Regions from separate parts of the Homo sapiens genome. Here region 2 is linked to region 1. The links are contacts of gene promoters, found by promoter capture Hi-C in blood cells and fetal thymus (Javierre and others, 2016). All regions are on one chromosome and are shown on one strand. The core of a region is centred on a gene start or on the middle of the fragment in contact, and the rest is flanking DNA. Distances in the headings are between cores, read along the strand shown. Region 1 holds the start of BCLAF1 (BCL2 associated transcription factor 1). Region 2 has its middle 39 kb from the start of HBS1L.

The links. Contacts are between HindIII fragments. The CHiCAGO score rates a contact against its expected background, and 5 or more counts as called.
Region 2: a contact is called between a fragment that was not itself captured here and the fragment with the promoter of BCLAF1 in region 1, in 1 of 17 cell types (fetal thymus). The highest score is 6.4, in fetal thymus.

The regions. Positions count from the first base shown.
Region 1 is chr6:136,288,128-136,291,274 of GRCh38, forward strand. It overlaps BCLAF1 (BCL2 associated transcription factor 1), which reads right to left and starts at 1,719. Exons shown (of 13, transcript NM_014739.3): 1 at 1,586-1,719. LOC124901408 (a long non-coding RNA gene) reads left to right here and starts at 1,887. Exons shown (of 4, transcript XR_007059784.1): 1 at 1,887-2,030. RefSeq lists enhancers at 513-1,109, 635-754, 1,110-1,706, 1,125-1,244, 1,191-2,390 and 2 more. The HindIII fragment of the contact is 10,003 bases long and covers 1-3,147 here.
Region 2 is chr6:135,092,646-135,095,792 of GRCh38, forward strand. No RefSeq gene overlaps it. Among named protein-coding and RNA genes, the nearest start is that of HBS1L, 39 kb to the left of the region's middle. The HindIII fragment of the contact is 1,163 bases long and covers 1,010-2,172 here.

The DNA.
Region 1 (3,147 bases), core at 469-2,968:
GGCTAAACAGCTTCCTTTGCCACCATTTTAATTATCTGAATTAAACAAGATATTTCAGTATTCACCACAATGTACTGGTTGAAACATGAAATCACTAAGAGAAGGTGCTCCAAGGTTGTTTACCATGAGCTACCTTTTTTAAGTGACAAGGTCTCGCTCTGTTGCCCCCGCTGGAGTGCAGTGGGACGAGCACAGCTCACAGCAGCCTCAAACTCCCGCCGAGGGGCCACTTTTTCCCTCCCATCAAATTACCTATCCTGAATTGGTCATGATCAAACAAAAATACAAAAGCCTTGTAGCAGTTTTTCCTACGTAAAGGTTATTTACTGCCTGAACAGTATCCTAACCATTCCAACTAAAGTCGAACTGAAATGAGAATTCACAAGAGGAACAAGAAATTTTGTTTTGCTTTGTAACACCAAAAAATTTAAAAGAGGCTGTTGCAGTGAGGTACAAGTCTGAAGTAGCTCATCTTTTTCGTCAGTGTTAGCCACACTTGCTTTCAACTTCAGTCTTAATTTGTTTCCAGTTCTAAAATGCTTTTTAAAAAAGTCTGAGGTAGCAAAGTAGCTGCTGGTACTTCAGCTTGATTCTGAAGAAATAAATCTTAAAAGCGAATCAAGCCAACTCATGAATTTAAAATGAAGGCAAAGTCCAATTCGCCACTCCCACCCATTTCTCACACCAGCTGTCCACCAATCGTGGCTGCAACATTTCTGACACGACTAAATGGGCTGAATCACTTGAAAAGACTCGGCTTCGCTAGTACTCATGAAGAACCGCACTTTCAGCCGGATGGGGCAGGGCCACGCTCAGAACCACCAGCTAAGACCCAATCCTCTCGCTAGGGAACCGTAACTAGGCAACCAGCACCAGTCAACAGCGCGCGCTCGCTTCAAAACAGCAGGTTGCCGCGGGTACCGAAATTAACTCCAGAGAACCAGGGTCAGCAGCGAGAGGCAGAACAGAGCACTAAAACCTAGTAGCATCACAAAAACGAGGCATTAACTGACGGGTGGTCTGAAGCCGGAGGGCAGTTTTAAAGACCACGCGAAAAGGGGTAGACCTACTCAACGCACTTTGCTGCGGGTCACAGTTATTTTCTCAAAACCCCACAGGCCACGAAGAAAGGTGGCAGTCCCAGCCAATGAGAGGCGGACACAAGTTGCACCTCCAGCGGCCGTCGGCGCCATAGGCGGGGGAGAGAAAAATGAACGAGCGCGCGTGCGCGGAGCGTTCAGTCGGGCGCGCGCAGAGGTACGGGCTGAAGAAATGGGGGAAGGGTGGAAGAGGAAGATATGCGCACGCGCACGGGAGGCCGCGCGGGCTGTGGGTCTCCAGGCAGGTTCGCAAACACGCGCGCGCCCGCCGTTAGCACTGCTCAGCGCCCCCGCCCGGCCTTTTCGGCCCGTAGTGCCTCGAAAACCTGAGAGAAGCTAACGAAAAAACGCATAAATAACGGCGCAACGTCTCCTTGGTTCTCCTTTCGCCGCCAACCCGACACCACCCACAAAAGAGTCAAAAATATGGCCTGTCCTCGGTCTTCACTGCCCCTGGAGTAACTTGAATACATTGCGAGGCCTACCTGACACGCCGAATCGCGGTTCCGGGAATTTATCTCCGTTGCAACCACACAGCGGCCATTTCCCGACTCAAGAACGCGAGGAAAACCATAGAGCTACCTTCGACGCGCTAGCACGTCTCCGTCACTTCCGATCTGGGGCGTGGCCTCGGGTGCCGCTAAATATGCGGGCAAGCCCCGCCCACCCTTCCGCTCCGGTCCGGCTTCCTGGCTGCTATTAAGATGTTGCCTGCGGCCTTCTGGGAAGTCGCGTGGCTGGTCTCGCGGGAAGATGTGACGGCTCCGCCCTCTGGCCCGTAGCGTCAGCCTTGGCCGGAGAGGCGGTAGAGTAGGGTGGGTGTTTTGTCAGGCCTGAGTTAGCTTCGCCATACGGCGCTTTTCGCTGGTGTCTCTGCCTCGTTCTGAGTAGACCCCCTAGACCTCACCGCCGCCCCTGCGTTTTACCTCAGTAAGCTCGTCTGGTCTGTTCTTTCTGTGGGGCCGGCTCAGACCAGGCAAAAAACAAAAAGACAATCCCACACTGAGGAAAAGACCAGGAGGCAAGACGTGGCTGTAATTGCAGACACGCTGCTCCCTCAGCCAGCAAGCGCCACTTTTCCTCTTGGACGCCTAACTGGAGATTAGAAAATGTGGCTTTTGGTTTGCTATTAAATTCGGCAGACGCACTTAGTTGAAAAATGGCCACGATCTAAATCCCTTTCGTGGCGTCTGATCAAATCGGAGCTCAAGCCGCAGCAGCCGGAAACCTCTTAGGCTGCTCGTGCCAAAGAAGGCCGCCCTTCTGGCGGCGTGATGACAGCTTTACCACATCGGCAACGTTGGCATAGGCATGAAAAAATAAAGAGCACGAAGCAGTTGAGCTTTCAGCCTGTGACGATGATTTGTGGCAGCCGAGGAACACAGCCCAACGTAGCTTGGTTGTCCAGAATTATAAGTCAGATTATAAATAGGCAAGCCACATTCGATTTGAATAGAATTTAAATAACAGCCGTAGCACATTTTGCATTAATACTTCTCCGGGCTGCACTTTCTTAGGGCCTAAAACCGCTATTGCTTTGATGTTTAGAGATGTTAACTACCTTGATGGATTTCAGACTTGTAATTAGCAACCAGGGTGTCAGTGAGTGAATCGAAACTAGGATTGGGCCCTGGTTGTGAATTTAACACTGTGCTTAGAGCATTCTTTCTTCACAGTCCAGTTTACCAGCTGAACTAGAAAAACGACAACATTTTCATGGAGTGAATCGTAGGTTTTTTATTGTACAGTCTGTCCCTCACCCCATTACCACCTCAGGATGTGGACACAGAAATCCTTGGCCTTTTTGTTGTGCCCTGATGTCCCAAGCATTCGCAGGTTCTCAGAAATATTTGTTGAGTGAATGAACTATATTTAAAAAAAAAACAACTAAGGGCTCAATACACGTCTGCTATTCTGCATGTATTGGGAGTCGGGGCGCTCCCAATACATGCTGTTATTCATTTATTCAAAATACCCCAAATTGCAGGCTAGGATATTATCTTCGACCTCCCTCTGCAATTCTATTGCACATGTGTTGAAAATGAAG
Region 2 (3,147 bases), core at 341-2,840, 1.2 Mb before region 1:
ATGACAGGCAACCCCAAGCTTCTAAATTTTGGGTGAAAAAGTACAGACTCCTTAGCCGGGTATCCAAGGCCCATAGCAATGTTGTTTTCTACCAAAACACACCATAAACCCAGCATACTTTACCAAGAGCATTCTCCCAGTCTCTCTTTCCCCTCTATGCATAGGTGAGGTCTAAAATTTCATTTGAATTGAGCTCTAGATTTAGATCCTCCATGGAACTTTTATCAACATACTCAGTTTTCAATGGCCCCCACTGATCCCCCTCTAACTCTCTGTAGAACACGTCTAATATCTCTCTGAATTTTTTGACATATCTAACTCCATGCCCTAAATCATACAAGATTGTGATTGCGAATGACCATGGAAATCTTCCCTTTATATTGTCCCTTGACTATGTTATGCTCATACTTGTATTGCAAATTGCTGATGCATTTCACTTTGCCTGAAACACCTTCCCCTTCCACGCAACCTGTCCAAATCCTATTCACCTTTCAAGGGTAAGTTTAAGTTTTTGACCTCTCTCAAGAACTTAACAACCACTTTAGCTCATGCAGTGTGCACTGCTTGAATTTTTAATTTGAACAATTGAGTTTGTTCTGTGCCACATCTATATTTATCTGCTGATGTGTGTTATTCATGATTTTTCCTTCAAGCTCTTTAAGATAGGAACTTTTTTTTTTTTTTTTTAGGCACAAGGTCTCACTCCGTTGCCCAGGCTGGTCTCAAACTCCTGGGCTCAAGCAGTCCTCCCACCTCAGCCTCTCGAAGTGCTGGGATCACAGGCGTGACCACACCTGGCCAACATAGGAACTTTTATTATACTTTTTGGATATTAGAATTCTGCCCCTGGCATATACTTACTCTGTGGCCTTGGGCAAGTCACTCAATCTCTAAGAGTCTCAATTTCCTCATTCGTTAAATGGGGAAAATGTACGAAAAGGGACCTATCAAAGTGCCTGGCATACAGTAAGTTCTCATTAAATGTCTGTTATTTACATAATAGTTTATAAGCTTCTATCGCATCCCATTCCTCGCCAGTCTGTCCATGTGTACATAAAGACTACTCGTTGCATTAATTATTTCATCCTTAGACTGGTGCAGTTCTAATCTTTAAAATGGTTTGTTGCTCACCACAGTGACCACAACTAATGATATGCTATCCAGGGGACAAACACTCCCACAGGCTGGTGCTTTGTAAGTGATATATTGAAGGAAAACATCGTCATCTTTTCCATGTATAATAACATCTGCCTCCTTAACAAGGGTTTTGTGAGGTTCAAATGAGATAAACCATGTGAAAGTGTTTTATAGCTATTATAAAGTACTATAATAGATGTTATTATTATTCCAATGTCCTTATATATAACTTTCTTTCAATTCAGTTGCTTTCCCAGATGCAGTAAAAGAGGCTGCAAACCATTCTCGAGGACCCCTCATTCATTCATTCATTCTCGTTGTTGACAGATCTTTACTGATCTCCTATTAGAGACAGAGTAAATGTGCTAGTCACAAGAGGGGCATATGAAGATGTAATATCTCAGCCGGGTGCAGTGGGTCATGCCTGTAATCCCACACTTTGGGAGGCTGAGGCAGGAGGATTGATTGAACCTAGGAGTTGAAGGCTGCAGTGAGCCATGATCGTGCCACTACACTCCAGCCTGAGCAACAGAGTGACAGCTTATCTCAAAAAAAAAAAAACAGTTATAATACCTGTACCCTCAAAACACTTCATATTATCCTTTTTTTCCTTCTCACCTTTTACCTTAAGCCATCCTGTTTATCAACTGAACATTTTATGTGTCTGCACATGAGACAGGATGGGGTGGGGAAAGAAGCTGAGTAGGTGACACCGAAGGGGACTCATCTATATGATCAGCCCTGTTGTACCATGTGAACCACAAGAACTTTATTTATAGGGTACTGAATCTTCTAGAGATGAAAAGTCTCAGCCCCAGAAAGCAATGCCAAATTATGAAAAATCTGGAGGAAGAAGAAAACCACCAAAGGGTATTCTTAAAAAAAAAAAAAAAGAAGAAGAAGAAGAAAGAAAAAAAGGTATACCTACTGAAGACTCTGACCACATATCATTATGACTCATAGTAAAATGGGTCTTGGTGATTCACTGCTACTTATTTGTTTTAAGCATGATAATTATCTTTACTGCTTAAATTAAGCTTTTCTTATTTCCAAAAACAATTTTTTAAAACCCTTGAGGCTTTGTTGGATTTTTATTCCATTGTTAAATAAGATTAAATACTCTGAGCTTTTCAGGTCTAACATTAGACTTGGTTACATTTTTGTAATACAGGATGTCTTTTGAGTTTCCATTCTAGATCACTTTTTGAAAGAATAAGATTTTTAAAATTTCTCATCAACTGTAAAATAGAATTGTAAAAGATATTGCTAAACAATGCTATTTCAATGTTTTTCCAACACTGAGCCTGTGAAGGTAAGCAAAGGAAGAGAGAGAAGTAAAAGGTGGGAGGGAAAAGTCTTTGCGATATTTTCACTGCCTTTACTTAAATGAGTATTAACTGATTTCAAAACCAATATCAATTTTACAGTAAATGAGTTTTGACATGTGCATGATTATGGTTATATTCTAAGTGAAAATGGCCTGGCCTGGGGCTGAGAATCTCCTGAGACACTAACCACTTCAGCTATTCTCACTACTATACCTGTTCTTTAATGGGTGAATTCATCTGATAGGTAGGTTGGATACAACTGAACTCTCCATTAAATAATTGGGTTTATGTTTTAAAATGCTAACAATTTCTGAATTAGGAAAAAATTTAATATACTCTAAAGAAATAGCAAAAGCCTAGCCTCCAAACACCAGATTGCTTCCCTTGCCTGGTCCTTGCTTTTGTAATTCTAGGCTTCTAGCATAGTACTTGGCACACACAGCTTGCTGTTCAATGAGCTACTTTCAAATTACAATGAAGTCATATAAAATGAGTGAAATTAAGAGATTAAGTATGTGTTTGTGCATATATATTTTAACAATCTCATCTGACTTGGCACAAAACTGTACTTTGCCAAGAATTTCATTATTTAATTAGCATTGCTGCTAATTTACACCATGCGCTTAACCAAGTGACTTACCCCTCTTTTTTTAAATATTTGTTTAATAATTCTCTCTTTTAT